Regions from separate parts of the Homo sapiens genome. Here regions 1 and 2 are each linked to region 3. Evidence: promoter capture Hi-C in 16 types of primary human blood cells and fetal thymus (Javierre and others, 2016). All regions are on one chromosome and are shown on one strand. Each heading gives the region's core, a stretch centred on a gene start or on the middle of the fragment in contact. The rest is flanking DNA. Distances are from core to core; before and after follow the strand shown.

Region 1 (3,036 bases), core at 244-2,743, 120 kb after region 3:
AATACCACTTGTTCCCCAAAAACCTATTGAAATAAAAAATAGGGGATAAAAAGCAATGGCTATAATGATATCAGCAAAATGGCAGAATAAAATGTCCTAGCCTTCTCTCCCTGCAACAGAAAGTTCTACTAGCAGCTATCCACAGACAAGTATACCTCAGTGAAAACCCCCAAACCTTGAGAATAAGCCTGAAATACTTGTGTGTATCACAGAAACAAATAAGAACTGCATTTGAAGAGCAAGAGAAATGCACTCACTTCAACCACATTGTCCCTTGCCCTCCCTCAACATGGCACAGTGCCATAAACAGAGAATTTCCCTGGGCCCACAGTTTCTACAGTGGGAAAAGGGAGCTGAAGATGGACATCTAGCTTCCCTAGCATTCTGAGACATCTCTCAGGATGCCCACTCCAGTCTCACCTCACAGAGATCACAGGGGGTAATGACATGGCTCACTGCCTGTGGTCAGATAGAAACAAAGAATGGAGGTATTGCTCACAGCAACTAGTGCTCACATTTTGATGGTGCTCTGTGCTGTGGCCTGCAGAGGCATCCAATCAAAGGTACCAGCTCAGCTCGTCCTCAAAGCCCACCTCAAGACGCCATCCAGCGAGGGAGAAATGAAACACGGCAACTGTTGGCAAAGTACAAAGCCTGACTTACACCACCCAGAAATTCAAACAGCTCTCAAGTCAGCCTCAAAGCTTATCCAAGACCCCACCCAGGGAGGGTGTTGCCCAATACAATGCCTTTCAGTAAACAATGGGCTAAACTTAGACCACCCAAAAATTGAAATAGCAGTTCACATCAGCCTCAAAACCCACTCCAGGGCTTCACCCTGACAGGGAGCCAAGCCTCAACCATACATCTCTCTGATCATAGCAGCTGATCCTGATCATCCCAAGTAGTAATTCTGACTAACCTTGGGGTCCAACCTGCAGCCTGACCCAATTGCAGAACTCAAATAGAGGTCCTGCCTGGCCAGTGAACATACCCTGTGTTTCAGCCCAATCAGAAGCAATTGCAGCACCCAGCCAGAAGTTCTGCCTGATTCCAAAGCCAAGCCTGTGGTCTAACGGAAAATGGAGCCTAGCCAGTAGTCCCATTCCAACCTCAGAGCAAAGGCCTTGGCCCCACAAATGAGAGAACCTGATGGCAGGCTCTGTCTATTCCATGTCATTACCAGCTGGCCCATCCAAAATCACAGGCTAGACTTAAGAGTGAAGGTCTATCCCAAGAATACCTGTAAAATCTGGAAGAGCTGACTATTTCCTCAATGTGCAGACACCAACAAAAGACACAAGGATTATGAAGAATCAGGGAATCATGACACCTCCAAAAGAAAAAAAACTAATAAAGATATAACGATAAATCCTGCAAAAATGAAGATCCATGAAAGGATTCACAATAAATCCAGAATTGTCCTCTTAAAGAAGTTCAGTGAACTACAAGAATATACAGATAGAAAATTAAATTCATTTGGAAAATAATTAAGAATACAAATAACTACAAAAAAATATAAAAATATGTAAATTCTGAAATCAAGGAGATATATGTGGAAGTGTGAAGATTATGTGTGGAGTTTTTCTATGTGGATAAGTTGTTATCAGCTTCAAACAGATTGTTATAAGAATTTCTATCCAAACCTCATGGTGACCACAAGGAAAAAGCCATTGTACAATAAAAAAATAAGATTGACAGGGCATGGTGGCATGTGCCTGTAGTCTCAGCCACTCAGGAAGCTGAAGTGGGAGTATCCCTTCAGCCTAGGAGCTGGAGACCACAGTAAGCTAGGATCGTGCCACTGCAATCCAGCCTGGGCAACAGAGTGAAACCCTGTCTCTTAAAATTAATAAATAAAAGTAACTTAAAAATAAAGAAAAAAGGATAAAATTATATCACTATTTTAAAAAATCATCAGATCACAAAAAATACAATAAGAGATGGGCATCAGTCTTTCCCAGCATTCCAAGATACCTATCAGGATGCCCACTCCAGTCTCACCTCACAGAGATCACAGGGGGGTAATGGCATGATTGACTCACTGTGGTCAGATAGAAACAAAGAAGGGAGGTATTTCTTTGAGAAAGAGAACCAAAGACTGACAAAAAAGGCAGAACACAATCACAAATTGACCATAGTAAGTGTCTGCCTATCAGTAATTACTTCAATAATTACTTCAAGTATAAGAAAATCACACTCATTATTCAAAATATATACAGCAGCTGAATGAATTAAAATACATGATCCAACTATGTGCTTTCTACAAGACACAAGCTTTAAATTTAAGGACACACAGAAACTGAAAGTTAAGGGAAGAAGAAAAATACATTCCATGCAAATAATAACCAAGTGATGTGGTTTGGCTCTGTGTCTCCACCCAAATCTCACTTCAAATTGTAACCCTTAGTGTCAGGGGAGGAACCTGGTGGGAGGTGATTGGACCATGGCAGCAGATTTTCCTCATGTTATTCTCATGATAGTGAGTGAGTTCTCCTGAGATCTGATAGTTTAGAAGTGTGGCACGTCCCCCGCCCCTCTCTCTCCCCTGCTGCCATGTAAGATGTACCTTGCTTCCCTTTCACTTTCTGCCATGATTGTAAGTTTCCTGAATGCTTCCCCAGCTATGCAAAAATGTGAGTCAATTAAACCTCTTTTTTTATATACATTATCCAGTGTCAGGTAGTTTTTATAGCAATGTGAAAATGGACTAATACAGAAAATTGGTATCAGCGGAGTAGGGTACCTCTATAAAGATACCTGAAAATGTAGAAGCAACTTTGGAACTGGGTAAGGAGCAGAGGTTGGAACAGTTTAGAAGACTCAGAAGAAGAGAGGAAGATGTAGGAAAGTTGGGAACTTCCTAGAGATTTGTTGAATAGTTTTGGACAAAATGTTGAAAGTGATAATGGACATTGAAGTCCAGGCTGAGGTGGTCTCAGATGGAGATGAGAAACTTAGTGTGAACTAGAGTAAAGGTCATTCTAGCTATGCTTTAGCAAAGACACTGGAGGCATTTTGCCCCACCCTAAAGAT
Region 2 (2,846 bases), core at 41-2,540, 110 kb before region 3:
GGAAAAACTTGGAAGTATAAGAGTGACACTCACTTATGTTTGACTCTATAAACCCAATTTTTGTTCTTAGTCTTTCTCTTACACTAACAATGTCTTTTGAAGTTATTAGTGGTTTTTGTTTTCTATTTGATTTTAAGTGGTTCTTAGTCTTTCTCTTACACTAACAATGTCTTTTGAAGATATTAGTGGTTTTTGTTTTCTATTTGATTTTAAGTGGAGAAAATAAAAGGGGTTACGGTTTTTTTTTTTTTTTTGAAGAGTAGTAGAGCACAGTGATCCCCTGCACTCTCCCTATTCCACATGGAGAGGGGCTAAGGTTGAGCGTCACTAGACTACACACACTATGGCAAGCTTTTCAGTAGAAAGGGACCCCACCCCCCACAAACACTCTATATATTTGTAGGAATTGGAAGGGGGAGTGGGAGCATCTAGGTAACTGCATTACATCTGGTGCCTCCTGGATGAGGAAGTAACCTCATCAAAATGGGGGTGGCTGGATGCGGTGGCTTGTGCCTCTAATCCCAACAGTTTGGGAGGCTGGAGTGGGGGGATTGCTTGAGGCCAGGCGTTCTAGATCAGGGGCAACATAATGAAACCCTGTCTCTACAAAAAAAATTAGCTGACTGTGGTGGCACAAACATGTAGTCCCAGCTACTTGGGAGGCTAAGGTAGGAGGATTGCTTGAGGCCAGGAGTTTGAGGCTGCGTTGAGCTATGATGGCGCCATAGAATTTCGGCCTGGGTAACAGAGCAAGGCCTGTCTCTAAAAAAACAGGCAAACAAACAACAACCAAAAAAGGCAGAGCCTCCAGTGGAGCTCAGCCACTGTTGGCTTGTTCTTCCACTGAGCTGCTGAACCACCTTCTTGAGTATCCAGAGCTGCTTGTTCCGCACACCAAATGCTCCTCTTCACCTTGCTTAACAGAGATAGGATCCTGCCACTCATTATTTGGCATCTATTAATTGAGCACAGTACTATTTTTCAGGTAATATGCTAGTAAAGAGGTGACCAAATACAGACATGCTCCCTCCCTACATGGAGCTTATCAGCTCATAAAGAAGGAAGGCACGAACCAAATAATTACCACCTAATCACTATTCCTATGCACGTGTCCACACACGTCTAATCATTTGTGGTTTACAAAAGGTATGATATTTAATAGAATTTTATTACAAAAGGTATGATATTTAATAGAATTTTATTTTCAACTTTCTTTTACTGTCTTTATATTTGAGCTTCGTGTAATATATTATTCTTCAAAATTTTATGATTTTCTAATATGCTACCATTTGCATGTGCTAACATTCACTTAACCATTGCATACTTAGTTTTCAATTTTTTGCCATTATGAATAATAATACAACAAAGTATTTGCATCTCTGATTTTTGTCCTATGTCATGAGTAATCTCTACCTCCCTAATTTGTGCAAGGATCTCGTCTCTTCCATTGATACTCTACATTCCCAAGACTAGATTCCTTGTTACCTCATGACAAAAGTAAAAATTACTCAGTTATATTTTATATAAGGGGCAGGGAAACATGTAGTCTTCATATCCCCTGCTTATATTCTTCATATTCCTTGCCTATATCTTTGTTTCAAGGGGAGTTTTGATTGGCTTCAAGGCCTGGTGGATTGGTGGTTAACAGAGGTATTTTAACTCTGTCAACTGTGAAGGAAAAAAACGAAGACATACCTCTCCACCCCTCTAGACGCAGACATCAGTACATGTCCCCCTAAATACTTAAGCATGCATATCATAACACAACTTCAATATGTTTATGTCTGTTGTTTATGCAAACTTAATATGCAGTGAAACACAGAAATGTGAAGTGCACACTTACTGAGTTTTGACAAATGCATACACTTACCAAAATACAGAACATTGCCAGCACCCAAAAATGTTACCCCGTACCTTTCTCCAGTTAAAAAATGACTACTCAAAAACAATTATTGTTCTGATTTTTTCAACATAGATTAATTCTACCTATTCTAAAACTTTATATAAGTGGAATCGTACAGTGCATATGCCTTTATGTAAGGCTTCCTTTACTCAACATAATGGATTTTATAGTCATTCATGTTGTAGCATGTATCAATAGTTTATTTTTTATTGCTGAAGTATTCCATCGTATGAATATACCTAGTTTGTTTTTAAATGATTGGTAGAATTCTCCTATGAAATCATATGGACCGCAGGCTTTTGAAGGAAGGGAGGACCAAAGCTTTGTCAATATTTCTGTTTTTTGTTCTGTTTAAATTTTCTTTTTCTTCGTAAACAGTTTTGGGAAATTGTATTTCCTTAGAAAACTACTCTGGCCATGATGATGAAGTGACAGGGACCAGATTTACTCTCCCATTTTAAACAGCTAAGAAACCAAACAAAATCTATGAAGCAGTGGATACCATGCAGGGCAGGACGGTGAATCCTTACCTCTAGAGCAGTGTGAGAAATACAGTTGCCTCAGCTTATTGCCAGAAAGAGTGGCCAACCACACCCAGGGCAAGGAGAACCCAAACAGAGCCCAGTGGTCTTCTGAATTGAGGAGACAGAGTTCAGGCTGGCTGTGGCAGCACGAATTGGTGAGGGAAAGTACTGGAGAAGAGGGAGCTTCACAGATAGACAGCTCCAGAGTCCTGCAGGTGGGTCTTCGCCGGTCCTTGGCTGCATTGGAATCTGTGTGTGCATGAGAGAAAACTCTAACATCCGGAGAGAAAAACACTATAAGGCAGTAGGAAGGAAAAGTCTCTGAGGCGTAGAGCCAAGAATGGTTCATGTGCTCACCAGCCATCACACAGGTTGTGTAGAGTCCTACAAAGAGTGTTGTCTCAGTCCCCCTAATCAAA
Region 3 (2,804 bases), core at 184-2,683:
CACCAATATTTTATATGATCAAAATACTAAAAAAGTAAGTGATATGTTAACACAGCTTTTGCCACCAGAGTACAAGTATAGTAGGGGTGGCTAGACATAAAAGTCCAGTAAAGATTACATTAGAATAGTAATTTGCAGCCTTCAAAGCATGAGCCATTTTGATATACACAAGCTGTGTCAGAGAGTCCGGCAGATATTATTTTCCTAACATGTAGATATGCAAGCTGAGACTCAGACTTTTTCAACTTTACTCTGCTAGTAAATTTCTGCTAACTGGGACATGAACCTGATATTCCCAGCCTGCCACTCTCTCAAAAAAGAGCAGGAATTTGTCCAAAGTGATAATTTCAATAAAATATCACATCCGTTACAAGATTTCTGGTAGAGGAATTTCTGGCTCAAAAGAACAAAAGGAGCTTCTTGAAGGGCAATGACATTGGAGCTGGATTTCCAAGTGTATCCCACTTGGTCATTACAGTATCCAGCGTGTAATCTCACAGCGGCTATGAGGAGATTCTCTTGCTGAAGAGTTTCTGTAGGGCTGCCTTCATATCCCAATTTCTCAGACTATAGATGAAAGGATTTAATGCTGGGGTCACTGCCACATACATCACAGTTATCACTGCATCTTTGGGGCTGTAACTGGTCAGAGGGCGGAAATACATGCCCATCGTTGTACCATAATATAAAAAAACAACTGTGAGGTGGGAGCCACAGGTGCAGAAGGCTTTGAATAGACTCTTGGTAGATGGAACTTGGAAGACTGTGGAAAAGACCTGAACATAGGAGACAATGATGCATAGTAATGGCAAAGAGAAAACGCCGACCCCTAGGTACATCATCTTCACATTAAAGTGGACGTCAGAACAGGACAACTTCAGCAAAGGCATAATGTCACAGTAGAAATTGGCTACTTCCTGGTTGCCACAGAAGGACAAACTAGCTGTGAGCAGAGTGTGGGGGAGAGCACTGGTGTTTCCAATCACCCAAGACCCAGCAATAAGCAGGATACAAGACCGTGGACTCATAATTGTTGTGTAATGAAGTGGGCAGCTGATGGCCACAGCTCGATCGTATGCCATTGCAGCCAAGGTATAGCTGTCTGCCTTGGCCAAGGCTATCATGAAATACATCTGCATTAGGCATCCCCCAAAGGAGATGAACTTGCTCCCCAAGAGATGGTTGGCCAGCACCTTAGGGATGGTTACGGATGAGAAGATGATGTCAACCAAGGAGAGGTTGGCAAGGAGAAAATACATGGGGTTGTGAAGGCGAATGTCAGCACAGATGGCCAAGATGATGAGCAGATTTCCAGTCAGTGTGATGGGGTAAATGCACAAAAAAATCACAAAGAAGACATTATTCTGTTCTTGCTGACTAGTAACTCCCAGGAGAATAAAATCCAGGTTAAAGGATTGATTTTCTTTCTTCATGGCTTCTTCAGCATGAAAGGGGAGAGGAACCCAGAATTATTAGCGCAGTTAGTGTGTGTTATAGTCTGCCTTATCTACCACTTAAACGTTTTTAATTATTTTACAAATTCACCTGCTGTCAAACTTATCCACCACTTTTCATTAGCCATGGCTATACCTGGTTTTTACAATCATAAATATAGCCAGCACTTTTGGGTAAAATCTCTGTTGGTCAATGGGACGAACTCTCATTGACCTCCTGGACACTCATGTCAAAGAAGTTAGCGATCTGTGAAGTAAAGATGGTTGTCCTTCCAAATGTAGCACCACCACCTTAATATCTATAATTTAATCACATAACAAAAACCTAATTTCATGTTTCATGTCTTAGATTTTTTTTTACTTTGTAGAGAAACAATAAATATGTGAAAATACAGTTATTCATCCACTTATTTGTTACACAAGACATAGCATCTGTTCTCAAGGACCTTATAATTGAATAGGAAAGCCAGACTCACACAATAATTTTATTACACATGGTAAGAAAAGGATAGCCTCTTGGAGTCCTTGTGAAAAAAACAAACAAAAAATCCTCCAGTGCAAAGGATGTATCATAGTAGGAATGCAGTGAACAATTTAAAGTTGTTCCTCCAACCAGTCTCGGGGTGAGCCCAGAGCCCAGGAAGTCAGAGGTGTCTACACTGCCATCAGATTCTAAAACAGAAAGACAACTGGCATTAGGTCCTAGAAAAACAAGCTCAGTGAACTTACTCCACAGGTGTTCGATTTTCAAAGATATTCCCTATCTTTTTGACAGCTTTTCTCTCTTTTCAAAGCCCATAACTATACATAATCACAGTGCTTTTTCCACTGGCCTTTGTCTTGGTTCATTTTGTGTTGCTATAACAGAATACTTGAGACTGGGGAATTTATAAGAAAAGAGGTTGAATTGTCTCATGGATCTGTAGGCTGGGACATTCAAGAGCGTGGCCCTGGCTTCTGGCAAGGGCTTTCTTGCTGCATCATAACCTGTCAGAGAAGGTCAACAGGGAAGTGGATACAGGGGAAGAGAGAAAACCCGAGAAGTATACTGGTTTTATCACAACCCACTCCTGTAGGAACATTCCCTTAAGATTAATCCAGTCTTGAGAGAATGAGAACACACTTACTACCATGAGAACAGCACCAGACCACTCATGAGGGATCCACCCCCTTGACTCAAACGCTTCCCACTAGGCTTTACCTCCCAACACCTCCCACACTGGGGATCACATTTCAACATGAGTTTTGGTGAGGGCAAACTCAATCCATAGCAGTCTTCTCTTCCTTGTCTTCCTTATTTCTTTTTGTAGTAATCCAAGTCCACAGTGGATTCAACTATTCTTTAGTAAA

Evidence for each region. Contacts are between HindIII fragments. The CHiCAGO score rates a contact against its expected background, and 5 or more counts as called.
Region 1: a contact is called between a fragment that was not itself captured here and the fragment with the promoter of OR1A2 in region 3, in 1 of 17 cell types (M1 macrophages). The highest score is 5.8, in M1 macrophages.
Region 2: a contact is called between a fragment that was not itself captured here and the fragment with the promoter of OR1A2 in region 3, in 1 of 17 cell types (M1 macrophages). The highest score is 5.1, in M1 macrophages.

The regions. Positions count from the first base shown.
Region 1 is chr17:3,080,532-3,083,567 of GRCh38, reverse strand. No RefSeq gene overlaps it. Among named protein-coding and RNA genes, the nearest start is that of OR1D5, 18 kb to the right of the region's middle. The HindIII fragment of the contact is 1,573 bases long and covers 707-2,279 here.
Region 2 is chr17:3,304,088-3,306,933 of GRCh38, reverse strand. All of the region lies in intron 2 of OR3A2 (olfactory receptor family 3 subfamily A member 2), which reads left to right. Among named protein-coding and RNA genes, the nearest start is that of OR3A1, 7.2 kb to the right of the region's middle. The HindIII fragment of the contact is 1,873 bases long and covers 354-2,226 here.
Region 3 is chr17:3,196,148-3,198,951 of GRCh38, reverse strand. OR1A2 (olfactory receptor family 1 subfamily A member 2) reads right to left here and starts at 1,433. Exons shown (of 1, transcript NM_012352.3): 1 at 504-1,433. The coding sequence starts at 1,433. The coding sequence ends at 504. The HindIII fragment of the contact is 7,515 bases long and covers 1-2,804 here.